Linked DNA regions of Homo sapiens: region 2 is linked to region 1. The links are contacts of gene promoters, found by promoter capture Hi-C in blood cells and fetal thymus (Javierre and others, 2016). All regions are on one chromosome and are shown on one strand. Each heading gives the region's core, a stretch centred on a gene start or on the middle of the fragment in contact. The rest is flanking DNA. Distances are from core to core; before and after follow the strand shown.

Evidence for each region. The method cuts DNA at HindIII sites, captures the fragments that hold promoters and counts their contacts. A CHiCAGO score of 5 or more calls a contact.
Region 2: a fragment that was not itself captured here is called in contact with the fragment with the promoter of SESN2 in region 1 in 1 of 17 cell types (endothelial precursors); the score reaches 5.6 in endothelial precursors.

The regions. Positions count from the first base shown.
Region 1 is chr1:28,256,644-28,264,038 of GRCh38, reverse strand. It overlaps SESN2 (sestrin 2), which reads right to left and starts at 4,521. Exons shown (of 10, transcript NM_031459.5): 1 at 4,102-4,521. The coding sequence starts at 4,191. RefSeq lists silencers at 3,611-3,670, 4,451-4,660 and enhancers at 3,930-4,778, 4,771-4,950. The HindIII fragment of the contact is 7,816 bases long and covers 1-5,578 here.
Region 2 is chr1:28,601,861-28,608,977 of GRCh38, reverse strand. It overlaps TAF12 (TATA-box binding protein associated factor 12), which reads left to right. Exons shown (of 6, transcript NM_005644.4): 5 at 3,518-3,606; 6 at 5,404-6,128. The coding sequence ends at 5,439. Among named protein-coding and RNA genes, the nearest start is that of RAB42, 13 kb to the right of the region's middle. RefSeq lists an enhancer at 6,039-6,539. The HindIII fragment of the contact is 676 bases long and covers 3,583-4,258 here.

The sequences.
Region 1 (7,395 bases), core at 3,272-5,771:
TGCCAAGGCTGGTCTCAAACTCCTGGGCTCAAGCGATCTTCCCACTTCAGCCTCCCAAAGTGCTGGGATTACAGGCATGAGCCACCATGCCTGGCATGGATCCTAATTTAAGCACTTACTATATGTTAACTTTTAAATTAGCTCAGGTACTTGCACACAGGTTCCATCTAATTTTCATCTGTTTTGGGGCGGCGGCAGAGTCTCTATTTTGCACACAAGACTAAGGGTTCAAAGGTTAGGCACCAGCTGACAAGTAGCCAATCTGAGATCTGAACCCACGGCTGCCTGGCTTCTAAGGTCCATTCCACTTCATAATAACAGCTTTGGGAAGCAGCCCCAGCCTTGGAGAGTTGAACCCAGCTCAGTCTGGCTTCCAAGGGTTCTGTCTACTACCCATATCGGCTTCTTGGAGAAGCCCCAGACTTTATTCTCGGTTACCCTATATTATCCTTTATAGAGCCTGTAAGTCCCTGGTCTCAGCTACAGACACCTGGTTACCCACTCTGCCAGCTGGGAAGGAACAGACACTATTTCTCCTTCCCTCACCCCCAGCTGAATTCAGATATTTTCCTGGGTTTATGCCTGAGAAGACGATACGGAAATACAGCCCAAGCAGCCCAGGACCTCCAGCCTTGGAGTGGGCAGGGTGGAGGGGGTGTGAGTGAGTGGTGCCATACACTTGTCTGCCCATCATGAGCTGGGAACCACGCTAAGTGCTTTACACATCTGATTGTGCCAATTCCTCCCAACCACCCAGAGGGAAACAGTTCTTATAATCCCTTCTTCGGAAACAGGTCAGAGAGGCTCAGAAAGGTCCTCTTCCAAATGGGCACAATTCAGATCTGACTCCACGGCTGGAATAGTTCACAAGGGTCAGCTAAGCCAGCAAGGGGCAACTAGTCACGAACACTTATTAGGTGCAAAGAGCAGTGCTGGGGATGAGACTTGCAGGGTATCTCCAGCAAGGGACTATTTCACATAATTGGGACCAAAGCTCCTACAATGGAGGGAATGGAGGAGGGTGTGCAAGGGGACTTATCTAGTGGGGGAGGAAGGGCTTCCCTGAAGAAGAAATGATGTCTGAGAAAGTTTGTTTTGTTTTGTTTTTTTTGAGACGGAGTCTCACTCTGTCACCCAGGCTGGAGTACAGTGAAGCGATCTCGGCTCACTGCAACCTCTGCCTCCCAGGTTCAAGCAATTCTCCTACCTCAGCCTCCGGAGTAGCTGGGAGTACAGGCGTGTGCCACCACGCAGGGTTAATTTTTTGTATTTTTAGTAGAGACGGGGTTTCACCGTATTAGCCAGAATGGTCTCAATCTCCTGACCTTGTGATCCACCTACCTCGGCCTCCCAAAGTGCTTGGATTACAGGTGCGAGCCACCGCGCCCAGCCTGGTTTTTTTTTTTTTTTTTTTTTTGAGACAGACTCTTGCTCTGTCACCCAGGCTGGAGTGCAGTGGCATGATCACAGTTCACTGCAACCTCCGCCTCCCAGGCTCAAGCAATCCTCCCACCTCAGCCTTCGAAGTAGCTGGCGCACACCACCACGCCTGGCTAACTTTTGTATATTTTGTAGAGACAGGGTTTCAGGCTGGTTTTGAACTCCTGGGCTCAAGCAATCCATCTGCCTCGGCCTCCCAAAGTGTTAGTATTACAGGCATGAGCCACTGCATCTGGCCGAGAAAGTTATTCGGGAGCCCAATACTACCAGTACTAGAGTGAAGCCCTTGGAACTTTCTGAAGATACACACATCTGAAGGCAATGAGCTCCTGAAAGGGAGTGTGTGGTGAAGTGACAGGGAGTTAAGGGAGCTGCACGCCTGGGTCTTCTCTTGGACCTCGGGCACCTGACTCAAAGATCAGCACCCTGCTGTCTTCTAAGGATGCCACCACTCAAAGCAGAAACCGTCCGAAGGTCCTCTTTTCTCGAGAGAGGAATACACAGAAATCTCCCAGATAGGCCAGGTGCGGTGGCTCATGCCGGTAATCTCAGCACTTTGGGAGGCCAAGGCAGGTGGATCACCTGAGGTTAGGAGTTCAAGATCAGCCTGGCCAACATGCTGAAACTCTGTTTCTACTGAAAATACAAAAATTAGCTGGGCATGGTGGCGGGTGCCTGTAATCCCAACTACTAGGGAGGCTGAGGCAGGAGAATTGCTTGAACCTGGGAGATGGAGGTTGCAGTGAGCTGAGATCGTGCCACTGCACTCCAGCCTGGGCAACAGAGCAAGACTCCATCTCAAAAAAAAAAAAAAAAAAAGATAAGAAAAAGAAACCTCCCAGATAGCAGCAGTTTTCTCCACTGAGGAAACATGGCTTCTGTGTAAAGATCCCTCCCTCAAAGCCTTTTCTCCCTAGACCAGGCACTGACCCAGAGAGGGGTGTACAGTGTCTGATCTCAGGAACAGGCTCAGGCACCCCCTTGTGAGACACTCTGGAGAAAGCTGTGCGTGCCATGGCCACGTTCTGATAATAGCAAGCAAGTATCACGCAGTTACTATGTTCCAGTCACAGTGCTTCAGCTTTTGCTTGTATTCTGAGTTAATTCTCCCAACAATCCCTTAGAGATACTGTAAAATCCCCATGGGAAGAAACCACAGATCAGAGAAGTGATTACTGGCTAAGCCACACACTGCAAGTTAGCAGGAGGGCTGGGACATGAACCCAGCACTCTTGCTCTCTAGTGTTCAGGTGTTCTCAATAGTAACATTATTTCCATCTTTCCAAAGAAGTCACACAGCTGAGAAGCTGCAGGAGAAGAGCCATTCCTCCACATGGCGCTCCTAAATCACGGCAGAGAAGGGTAAGCAAGCTAACAAAAACCAGGGCACAAACTATACACCGACGGAGGTAGGATCCCCAGAAACCACGTTACTAAGAGAAAAGCAGGGATTTTCCTGGGGTCATAGCACTCCACCAAATCCCAGGTCCAGAATACAACTTCCACCACACTCTAGGCCTGTAAACTAAAGCAACTAGAAGCTCCTAGTGCCGTGCAATCTCCGAAATCATAAGGCCAAAGAACAAGATATTCAGTGGGGTTAATGAAGAAAGCCTCTTTCTGAGCCCATCGTGGGCCTCAATGTTCTTCCTGTAAAATGGGGCTATAGCGTAGCTTGTATTGCTGGTTTAGTCCTGAGGACTTAGGTTAAAGGCGAAAAAAACTCAGAGCCTGGTATCTAGTAGGTGCATAATAAATGATAAGATGTCCATTATCGCTGCTGCTGGTAGTGGTGGGGGAGTGCGAACTGTCAGTCTGGTTAGGTCCAGCCTAATTCCCGGTCTCCCTGCAAAGCCCCTGCGGGCTATGCCGGGATGCGAATGCGGGGGGGTGGAGGGGAGCGGCGCGAAGGGAGGGTGGGGGAGGAATTTCTGGAAAACAAACTTCTGGGCCTTCAGACCACTTACTTAGCAGGGCGCAGCCTAACCCGCGCTTGGCTTCGGAAGCCGCGACCAGGGTTGTCCCCTCTCCCCCCAGCTTTGGCTGCCGCCGCCGCGTACCGGGCGGCCCGCCAAGCCCCCAGAGCCCCTGCGCTCTCCCTCCAAAGCAGGAGTGCGGTGGACATAGGATGAGGTCGACTTTCACTGGCCAGTCCCAGGTGCCTACGCCCCGCGCTGGGGGACAGGAGCCGGGAGGCACCCCAGGAAGGGTCCTCTGCCCGCCGGCCCCCGCGAAGAGGAAGGGACTCCGCGGAAGGGGGCGGGGAGGAGGAGTGGTCTGGCCGCTCCGGCCGGGATTTGCCTGGACTTGAAGACGCTCAGGAGCCCAAAGCTCGGAGAGCCTCCAGAAGGCTTCTCCCTCATTGGCCAGGAGTCCGAGGGAGCCGAGGAAGGATCCGCGGCCCTGGGGTGGGGCGGTGAGGGAGAGGGGGAGAGGGAGGGAGGAGGGGGAGAGGGAGGGGGAGAAGGAGGGAGAGGGGAGACAGAGTGGGGGAGGGGTGCCGAGGGCCGCGGCTGCCAGTTGATGCAACCCGGGTCCCGGGTTACGCGCTCGGCTTTCCCTCCCCGAGCCCAGGACACACCGACTCAGCTCCGGACAGCCTGAGGCTCAGACGCGGTTCGGGGTTCCAGGGAAGAGGGGCGTCGCGCGGCCGCCGCTTACCTCTCCGGGGCCCGAGTCGCCGACGCCGCCCGGGGCGAACCGCAGGTAGTCCTTGAGCTCTGCGCGGCACTCGGAGTCCGCCACGATCATGGTGCGCGCCAGGACCCGGTCGCGGCTCGCCGACGACCCGTGCACCCGAGTGGGTTTCGGAGGGACGCCCGAATGAAGCCGGGACTGGGCGCCGCCGGGGAGCTTCTAGAACCCCGGGGCGTCTCTCGGGGCTCCAGAACGCTCCGGAATCCGAGAACGGCCGCTTTGGTGCTGGACTCTTCCCCCAGTCGGGCTTCGGGAACGGCGAACGGCCTCGGGGGCCTGGGAAGGGCCGCAGCGCAGGGGTTTTCACGGCCTCGGAAGTCCGCAGGGGCCAGGGCTGCTCCCGGACCCAGCGCTCCTCAGCATCCCCGCCGCGGAACTGCCAGCGCTCGCCGGGCTCTGACACCAGCAGTTCAGCCCGCTGCGGTCCCCGGGGGAGGGCGGGGACACAAAAGCCCGGCGGTCCAGCCAATCAGAGGTCTGTTTCCCCGGGGAGGCGGGGGAAACTCCGCCCCCTGGAGTCACGGGCTCCGCCAATCAGCACCGGGGAGCGCCCGGAATTCTGGGAGTTGTAGTCCGCCTCGGGTGAATGCTGCAAACTTTTGCAAGACGGTTTAGTCAGATCCCTGGCAACACCAGACGGCAGTGACAGCCCTAAGAGTCATTAGGGTTGCGTGATGAAAAGGGACTTCACTGGGCTAGGCCAAACAGCCGAGTGTGAAATCTCCTAAATGAATTCTTCATCTTTTCAGTTCCTGGAGGGACTGGCTAGGGTTAAGAGAGGTTTGGCTCGCGTCCTATCCGGTGCTGCTAATTATAGAACTGAACCCCAGATATTTAGAGGTCAGAGGGCACAACCCTGCTCCCCCTGGCCTCGGGGAAGCTCCAAAGATGCGAGACACAGGGAATTCACCTTATTTGTGGAGCCTCAGGAAAAGCCTTCATTCCTTGAAATGTCATTGGTAACTTCGTGTGGAACCTCAATCCCTATTGCTGGAAGTTTTCTTCCTTCTGCTACCCGTCCTGGCTTCCACCCCTCCCACCCTCCTCGAAACTTTGTAACAAGGTGTTCTGCTGGATCTTTGCTCACCTCTCCCTCTGGCCTTCTCTGACTCCTCTTTCACCACCCACTTCCTAAAACGTGGGTGCTTCCCCAGTTTGTTTTTGCCCCTCTTCCCTCCAGACACTCTCCCTGATCTCATTCACTTCCTGGCCTTCAACTCGCCTCTTGCCAGAAAGTTGCCTCTACCAACACCTCAGCACCTCCAAGCTAAATTCATTTTCTATTCATTTCAAACGGAGCCTCTTCCTTCACAGTTTTCCTTCAGAGCTCCTTTTTTTGTTTCCATTTTAAAGTTATTGTTTATTCTAGACAGGGAATCCTGCCAGGGGTGAGGGTGGATAAGACCCCCAAGTCCCCCTCTGAGACTTCTAAGTCTAAGCTTACAATTCCAAAGATGAAACCGACTTGGTTTCCTGCCTCCAGATTCTTGGGAAAAAGAGATTAATCTCACCCTCCCCTGAGCTCCCAAGGCACTTGAGCTGGATCTCTTTTCACATGTATCACATTCTACCTAGTTTTTTTTGTTTTTTGTTTTTTTGTTTTCTGTTTTTTTGTTTTTGTTTTTTGTTTTTTAGTAAATAGAGACAGGGTCTCAATATGTTGCCCAGGCTGGTCTCAAACTCCTGAGCTCAAGCGATTCTCTCACCTCAGCCTCCCAAAGTGCTAGGATTATAGGCATGAGCCACCATGTCCAGCCACATTCTGCCTTGTATTGTAATTTTCTATGTACATGTTTTATCTGACCCTTTTTTCTTTTTATTAGTATTGTTTTTTAGAGATGGGGTCTAGCTCTGTCACCCAGACTGGAGTACAGTGGCATGATCATAGCACGCTGCAGCTTCAAATTCCTGGGCTCAAGCGATATTCCCTCCTCAGCCCCCCAAATCAATCACTGGGGTTACAGGTGTGCACCACTGAGTCTGGCTTATCTGATCTTTTTAATTGTAAACTCCTTGAGGGCAGGGTCAACATCTTTTTTTTTTTTTTTTTTTTTTTTTTAAACAGAGTCGCACTCTGTCTCCCAGGCTGGAGTGCAGTGGCCCGATCTTGGCTCACTGCAACCTCTGCCTCCCAGGTTCAAGCAATTCTCCTGCCTCAGCCTCCTGAGTAGCTGGGATTACAGGCAAGTGCCACCACACCCGGCTAATTTTTGTATTTTTAGTGGAGACAGGGTTTCACCATGTTGATCAGGCTGGTCTCGAACTCCTGACCTTGTGCTCTGCCCGCCTCAGCCTCCCAAAGTGCTGGCATTATAGGCATGAGCCACCGCGCCTGGCTGGCAGGGTCTACATCTTGACATCCATCTCCTGCTCTATGTCACCTAGCAAAATGTCCTGACAATCATATGCCCTTGGTCACGGAATCTTCCTTTGCATCAACTTCCTCTCTAAACTACCCTGTGTCAGCTTCAGCTTTCATTTAAAAAATTTACTATGTGGCCAGGCGTGGTGGCTCACGCCTGTAATCCCAGCACTTTGGGAGGCCGAGGTGGGCGGATCACGAGGTCAGATCAAGACCATCCTGGCTAACATGGTGAAACCCCGTCTCTACTAAAAATACAAAAAATTAGCCAGGCGTGGTGGCGGGTGCCTGTAGTCCCAGCTACTTGGGAGGCTGAGGCAGGAGAATGGCGTGAACCCAGGAGGCAGAGCTTGCAGTGAGCCGAGATCGTGCCACTGCACTCTAGCCTGGGTGACAGAGTGAGATTCTGTCTCAAAAAAAAAAAAAAATTTACTATGTAATGTCAAAGTCCAGATCAAAAGGCTTCACTGGTATTTCATCAGCTACAGAATTAAGATCAAACTCCTTGGGTGGGCATGGTGGCTCACGCCTGTGATCCCAGCACTTTGGGAGGCAAAGGCAGGCAGATCACCTGAGGTCAGGAGTTCAAGATCATCCTGGCCAACATCGTGAAACCCCATCTCTACTAAATATACAAAAATTAGCCAAGCGTGGTGGTGCACGCCTGTAGTCCCAACTACTCGAAAAGCTGAGGCAGGAGAATCGCTTGAACCCGGGAGGCAGAGGTTGCAGTGAGCTGAGATCGTGCCACTGCACGATCTGGGTGTCAGAGCGAAACCCTGTCTCAAAAAAAAAAAAAAAAAAAATCAAACTCCTATCTTAACATTCAAGGTTTGCCAAGATGCACCTAATTTACCCTCCCATTCTTACCACCTGCAACATCCATGTTTCTTGTT
Region 2 (7,117 bases), core at 2,671-5,170, 350 kb before region 1:
CTACTGTCTTTATTATTTCTTTCTTTATTTATTTTTGAGACGGAATTTCACTCTTTTTGCCCAGGCTGGAATGCAAGGGTGTGACCTCGGCTCACTGCAACCTCTGCCTTCCAGGTTCAAGTGATTCTCCTGCCTCAGCCTTCGGAGTAACTGGGATTACGTAGGCGCCCTCCCACCACGCCTGGCTAATTTTTTGTCTTTTATTTATTTATTTATTTACTTTGAGACAGAGTCTCAGTCTGTCGCCCAGACTGGAGTGCAGTGGCACAATCTCCGCTCACTGCAACCTCTGCCTCCCGGGTTCAAGCGATTCTCCTGCTTCAGCCTCCCGATTAGCTGGGACCACAGGCACACGCCACCACGCCTGGCTAATTTTTTGTATTTTTAGTCGAGACGGGTTTTCACTGTGTTGCCCAGGCTGGTCTCCAACTCCTGAGCTCAGGCAATCTGCCTACCTTGGCCTCCCAAAGTGCTGGGATTGCAGCCGTGAGCCACCACACCCGGCCTGCTCTCTTTCTTTAAAGTGACTTTGCACACTTTATCTACTTTTTGTTGACTGTAAAGTTCAATTCGTAGAGAATAACCTTTGTCTGCAACCTCCACCACCTGAGTTCAAGGGATCCTTTTTTTTTTGAGATGGAGCCTTGCTCTATCGCCCACGCTGGAGTGCAGTGGCGCGATCTTGGCTCACTGCAAGCTCTGCCTCCCAGGTTCACACCATTCTCCTGCCTCAGCCTCCCGAGTAGCTGGGACTACAGGCGCCCGCCACCACACCCGGCTATTTTTTTTTTTTTTTTTTTTTGTATTTTTAGTAGAGACCGGGTTTCACTGTGTTAGCCAGGATGGTCTTGATCTCCTGACTTTGTGATCCACCAGCCTTGGTCTCCCAAAGTGCTCGGATTACAGGCATGAGCCATCACGCCCGGCTGTTCAAGGGATTCTTGTGCCTTGTAGCTGGGATTATAGGCACTCACCATCACTCTTGGCTAATTTTTGTATTTTTAGTAGATAGGAGGTTTCACCATGTTGTCCAGGCTGATCTTGAACTCTTGGCCTCAAGTGATCCATCCGCCTCAGCCTCCCAAAGTGGTGGGATTACAGGTGTGAATCATCGTGCCTGGCCCTTTTTGTTTTCTTTTGAGGCAGGATCTTCCTCTTCACCCAGGCTGCAGTGCAGTGGTGTGATTATGGCTCACTGCATCTTCTACCTCCTGGGCTCAAGTGATCCTCCTGCCTTAGACTCCCAAGTAGTTGGGACTACAGGTGCACACCACCACATACAGCTAAAAAAAAAAGTTTTCTTTTTGAGATGGAGTCTCGCTCTGTCACCTAGGCTAGAGTGCAGTGGTGCCGTCTCAGCTCACTGCAACCTCTGCCTCCCAGGTTCAAGTGATTCTCCTGCCTCAGCCTCCCAAGTAGCTGGGATTATAGGCACCTGCCACCATGCCTGACTAATTTTTTATATTTTTAGTAGACACCAGGTTTCACCATGTTGGCCAGACTGGTCTTGAGCTCCTGACTTCAGGTGATCCGCCCACTTTGGCCTCCCGAAGTGCTGGGATTACAGGCGTGACCCACCACTCCCGCCCAGCTAATATTTTTATTTCTAGTAACAATGCAGTCTCACTATTATGCCTACACTGGTCTTGAACTCCTGGGCTCAAGCAGTCTTCCCGTCTTGGCCTCCCAAAGTGCTGAGATTACAGGAATGAGCCACCACATCTGGCCAGTGTCACTTTCAAATACTAATAACATAAATTGTTAGCAGAAGGTTTCAGACATTCTGTTTTCAAAGAAATATTGGGCCAGGTGTTGTGGCTTATGCCTGTGATTTGCTAAAAGTGACGTACACCTTTATACATGAGTTTAGGGGGCCATGCCCCTATGCCAGTTACTGTCAAAGAGGAATAAACAAAGTCCCTGTCCTCTGGGAACTTCTTGTGATAACCTTATAAGGAAGATAATATCCAGGGGCACCAGGTCATGGAACTGTGGTGTGGACATACTTCTCTCTATATCCATACCTATATGTTTACCCTAGGCTCTGGGCTGAATACTTCACATGCCTTATGTCATTGAATGCCCCAACCACCCTGTCAGTGGTTATTACTGTTGTTACAGCTACATAAAAAATGAAGAAACTGGGAGCCAGCGTCATACAGCTGCTCAGTGAAGCAGCAGACCTCAGCTTTGGCTCTTAATTCCAGAATGCTTGAAGTGCCTTCATGTCCCTTAGGTGTGAGAGGGGTTACTTTGAGCCTTAGGATTAAGACAACTAAAGAAATAAATGATATTTATTTTCTGTGAATTGGATAAGCTGCATGGAAACCTTAGGTCTCAGCATTCACAGCTTTGACTAAATTACCTCTTTTTCTTTGCAAGAAGCTTGAATTTTGTCCTTTAGAAACCTTGGAGGAAGCCAGGCATGGTGACTGATGCCTGTAATACCAACACTTCGGGAGGCTGAGGCAGGAGGATGTGCTTGAGCCCAAAAGTTCAACATAACAAGACCCCCTCTCTACAAAAAATAGAAATATACAGCCAGGCGCAGTGGCTCACGCCTGTAATCCCAGCACTTCGGGAGGCTGAGGCAGGCAGATCACCTGAGGTCAAGAGGTTGAGACCAGCCTGGCTAACATGGTGAAACCCCGTTTCTACTAAAAATACAAAAAATTAGCTGAGGCCAGGTGCGATGTCTCACGCCTGTAATCCTAGAACTTTGGGAGTTCGAGGTGGGTGGATCACGAGGTCAGGAGTTCAAGACCAGCCTGACCGAGATGGTGAAACCCCATCTCTACTAAAAATACAAAAATTAGCCAGATGCAGTGGCAGATGCCTGGAATCCCAGCTACTCGGGAGTCTGAGGCAGGAGAATCGCTTGAACCCAGGTGGCAGAGGTTTCAGTGAGCCGAGATCGCACCACTGCACTCCAACTTGGGCAACAGAGTGAGACTCCATCTCCAAAAAATAAAAAATAAAAAAGCCAGGCATGGTGGCACACACCTGTAATCCCAGCTACTCAGGAGGCTGAGGCAGGAGAATTGCTTGAACCTGGCAAATGAGCCTGTGGCATATTCAATGTTGAAGCCTGAGAGATTGCAGTGAGTCGAGATTGCGCCATTGCACTCCAGCCTGGGCAACAGGAGCAAAATTCCGTCTTAAAGAAATATAAGAAATAAGAAATATTAGCTGGCCATGGTGGCATGCGCCTGTAGTCCCAGCTACTTGGGAGGCCAGGATGGGAATATCGCTTGTGCTGGGGTAGTCAAGGCTGTAGTGAGCCAAGATTGTGCCACTGCACCCCACTCTGGGTGACAGAGTGGGAAGACCCTGTCTCCAAAAAAAAAGAAAAAACCTTGGAGAAGCCATGTCCATTTTCCCTATTTGTAATAGAATCCCTTTGTGGAGTTAGTAGCCAGATGCCCACATTCATCCTCCCTGATCCAAGGGGGTCACATTGCACTCCTGGTACTGCCTTCTTGGTACGTTTATCTCTGTGCTGGCTTCTTCCTTGCAGAGCGCCAGTGGAACATGTGGATCCCAGGATTTGGCTCTGAAGAAATCCGACCCTACAAAAAAGCTTGCACCACAGAAGCTCACAAACAGGTGAGGAAATGCCAGAGCCCTGGGGACAGCCAGGGCTGATTCCTTGAGTTACGTCTCAGAGTGGATACACACAGCTACCTTCTAGGGGGCCTCGCTTCCTCCACACAGCAAACTTCACTCTCTGGAGCAAGGGTCAGAGAGGGCAAGAGGCAGCAGCGGTCTCCGGGAGATCAATAAGATATTCACATGGTGCTGTGCTGTTCCCACATGTGGTCTGTTTTTTCTCGTAACTCTGTTGAGTGTCACTTAAAGCTGTTGATTCTGGGTTCTTCTAATATGGATGCAGCTCGCCCCACCATACCTCCTTAATGAAATCTTCCTTCATTGTTGCTGATTGCAACACCATATATGGTCCTATGAAGAGAGGGCAGGTTAAAGAAAGCAAAAATGTGCTGTACTTGTTCTGAGAGGTAGTATCCAGGCTGCCGTGCTGGACATTCTGGCCTGTGTCCTGGTTTTACCTTTGAACAAGGTTCCCTCTGAACAAGGAACCTAGGAGTCAGTGTGAGAATACTACTTCTGCTGTGGAGCAAGTCATCCCCATCTTTGGTCAGTCCAACAGCAGTGTTGGCCTCCCTCTGACAAGGCTGTTATCCTTTCTGTCTTAACTTAAGTGGCTACTCTGATTTGAAACGTGAGCTTTTTCCAAGCTTAGCAGGCACAACTGGGCAGTCCTGGTTGAGTGCCCCTGCTTCGCCATAGCCTGGTATCTCTGGAGCCGGTGTTTGTAAAGCTCACGAAGCAAGCCCTAAAGGGAAGCCACCAGTTTCCTGAATGGAAAGATTGCACTGTTCAGAAGAGAGTCCCTGCAAACAATGGACTGTCACTTTGTGCTCCCAAGTTAACCATTTTCAGCCCTATTTATTTAGTCGACAAATGCCATAATATTGGTATTTGGTCAAAAAGAATGAACAAAGTAAGTTGTTAATTTGGCTAGTAGCTAGTAATAGTAAAAGAATTCAGATCATGAAACCTATGATCTGAGTGTTTCCATGATGGACTGTGGTAGAAGTTGTTAGTCTTCAGTTTCCCTTCAATGCAGGTCATGAGATGTGAAATGTCAGCTCCCTTTGTGTGTGGCAACACTTTGAAATTGAGGCCCCTTCCCTATTGTGTCCATCATTGGAGAAAAGATTGGGGTCAGGGGACCCCAGAAAACACATGCTTGGCCAGGCGCAGTGGCTCATGCCTGTAATCCTAGCACTTTGGGAGGCCGAGCCTGGTGGATCACTTGAGGTTAGGAGTTTGACACCAGCCCGGCCAATGTAGTGAAACCCTGTCTCTACTAAAAATACAAAAATTAGCCAGGCGTGGTGGCACGTGCCTGTAATCCCAGCTACTGGGGAGGCTGAGGCAGGAGAATCACTTGAACTTGGGAGGCAGAGGTTGCAGTGAGCCGAAATCATGCCACTGCACTCCAGCCTGGGCAACAGAGCGAGATTCCATCTCAAAAAAAAAAAAAAGAAAGAAAGAAAACACATGCTTTGCCAGCTTATTCTCTAAGTCACCAAAACTCAAGAGCTGTCACTTTCTCCTGCTTTTAACTTTTTTGCCATTCTGCTAGCCTAGAGCAGTTTGGTGGATGAAATGGGTCCACTAGCCCATCTAAACATCTCTTGGGGCCTTGCAGACTGCTCTCTGGTTAAAAGGAATCTACTGAGATGCCTTGTGACTGCAGGTCTCTGAGGGCTGCGGCCTACAGTGTAGACCATGAGGCCTGCTAGCCACACAGAATGTTCCAGAAAGCTCCTGACTCCAGCTGCTGCTGTATAACTGCTTATTTGTCTCTCCTTTCAGAGAATGGCATTGATCCGGAAAACAACCAAGAAATAACACACGGAAAGGTCAGGGAATGGACAGCAATGTATTTGGAGATACTTGAGCTGAGAACTCAGCCATCTCATCCTTGGATTTTTTTTTTTAATGCTTTACAGAGAAGCATATATTTTTTATTAACAGTGCAGCAATATCTATAATGACTGAGAGGATCTGCCAAAAGAATAAAGCCTCCTACCCCAACTTCCGGTCCCTTTTCCCTGCCATCTCAAAGAGGAGCAATGTATCTTCCAGAGAAGATTTTATTTGTGGTTTATTATATAAGTGACTGAATATGGGACAAAGCATTATGGTCTTTTTGGGTAAGACAGTATTAGCAGGATTTGTAAAGGGTTTTGTTTCCTTCTCCCTTCCCCTTTTCCCTGTACTTTGTAATGTCAGTGTTTATATGAATATGACTTTCATTTGCTTTTCCAGAATAAAGAAGTTATTAATCGAAAGACAGGGTACCTTTGAAATCCCAGAGGGAGTCAGGACAAGCAAGCCTGGATTGTAGCTCTCTAGTCAGCAGGTGGCAGCATCGTTATTCATTTTGGTGTTTGAGAAAAACTCAGGGATTTTCCATCATTTTACCCCAAGGGAGGCCATAACATCAGCAGGAGTTTGAGTCCAGCTTCTCGGCCATAAGAATTGAGTAGGGTGACCTTCTCTCACGGCCCTCAACTGAAGAGGCATCCTTGTTTTGGCAATGTTATATGCCTAAAAACCCTTTTTGGTTTTTTTTGTTTTTTTTTAATTTTTTTTTTTTTGAGACGGAGTCTAGCTCTGTCACCCAGGCTAGAGTGCAGTGATGTGATCTTGGCTCACTGCCACCTCAGCCTCCCAGGTTTAAGCGATTCTCCTGCCTCAGATTCCCAAGTAACTGGGGTTACAGGCGCCTGCCGCCACACCGAGATAATTTTTGTATTTTTAGTGGAGATGGGGTTTTCACTGTGTTGGTCAGACAGGTCTCGCACTCCCAAAGTGCTGAGATTACAAGCGTGAGCCACCGCGCCCGGCCTAAAAACCCTTTTTGACCTGCTCTTCTGGAACTCCTGGAGAAAGCTGTGTTTGTCCCTGTCCCTGAGAAAGGATGGGAGTAGGCCCCTGTCCTCAGGATAGGCATGTCTGTGCAGGTGCCCATCTCTTCTTAGTTGCTGTTATCTTTGATCCTGGTGTTTTCACCATCATGCAGAAGAAACCAGGCGCCTTCCAGACCTCTGGGTCATGTCCTTCAGTGGCACCTAGCATCATCCTGTCCTGGGCCCAGCATGGCCCTTGTGGATTGTGAGAGTTCTGTGGGCTCTAGGGAGGATGGCTGTCCTACCCAAGGGTCACTAGCACAGGCACAGCCACCTTGATTTGCTTTGGTCCTCTGCGTCCTGAAGCTTGGCCCAGGATGAGACCCTGCATTTCAAAATTCCCTCCCACCCTGAGTTAGATCCCATGTCCCCCCCACTTCACAGTCTCACAGATACACTGAGTGAGCTCCTCAGAGGCTGTGCTAATGTTACTGTTGCTCTTGGCTGAAGTTTCAATGCCCCAAAGAGGCAGCCAGCTTCTTTCCCTGTGGTGTCACCCAGTGCTCACCAACAGGTCACTCTTGTGGCCAACCATCAGGACGAGGATGCTGAAGGGTTTCACTTTCCCCAGAACCTCCTGATGCCAGTGGTGACACTCATAAAGGATATTCTGT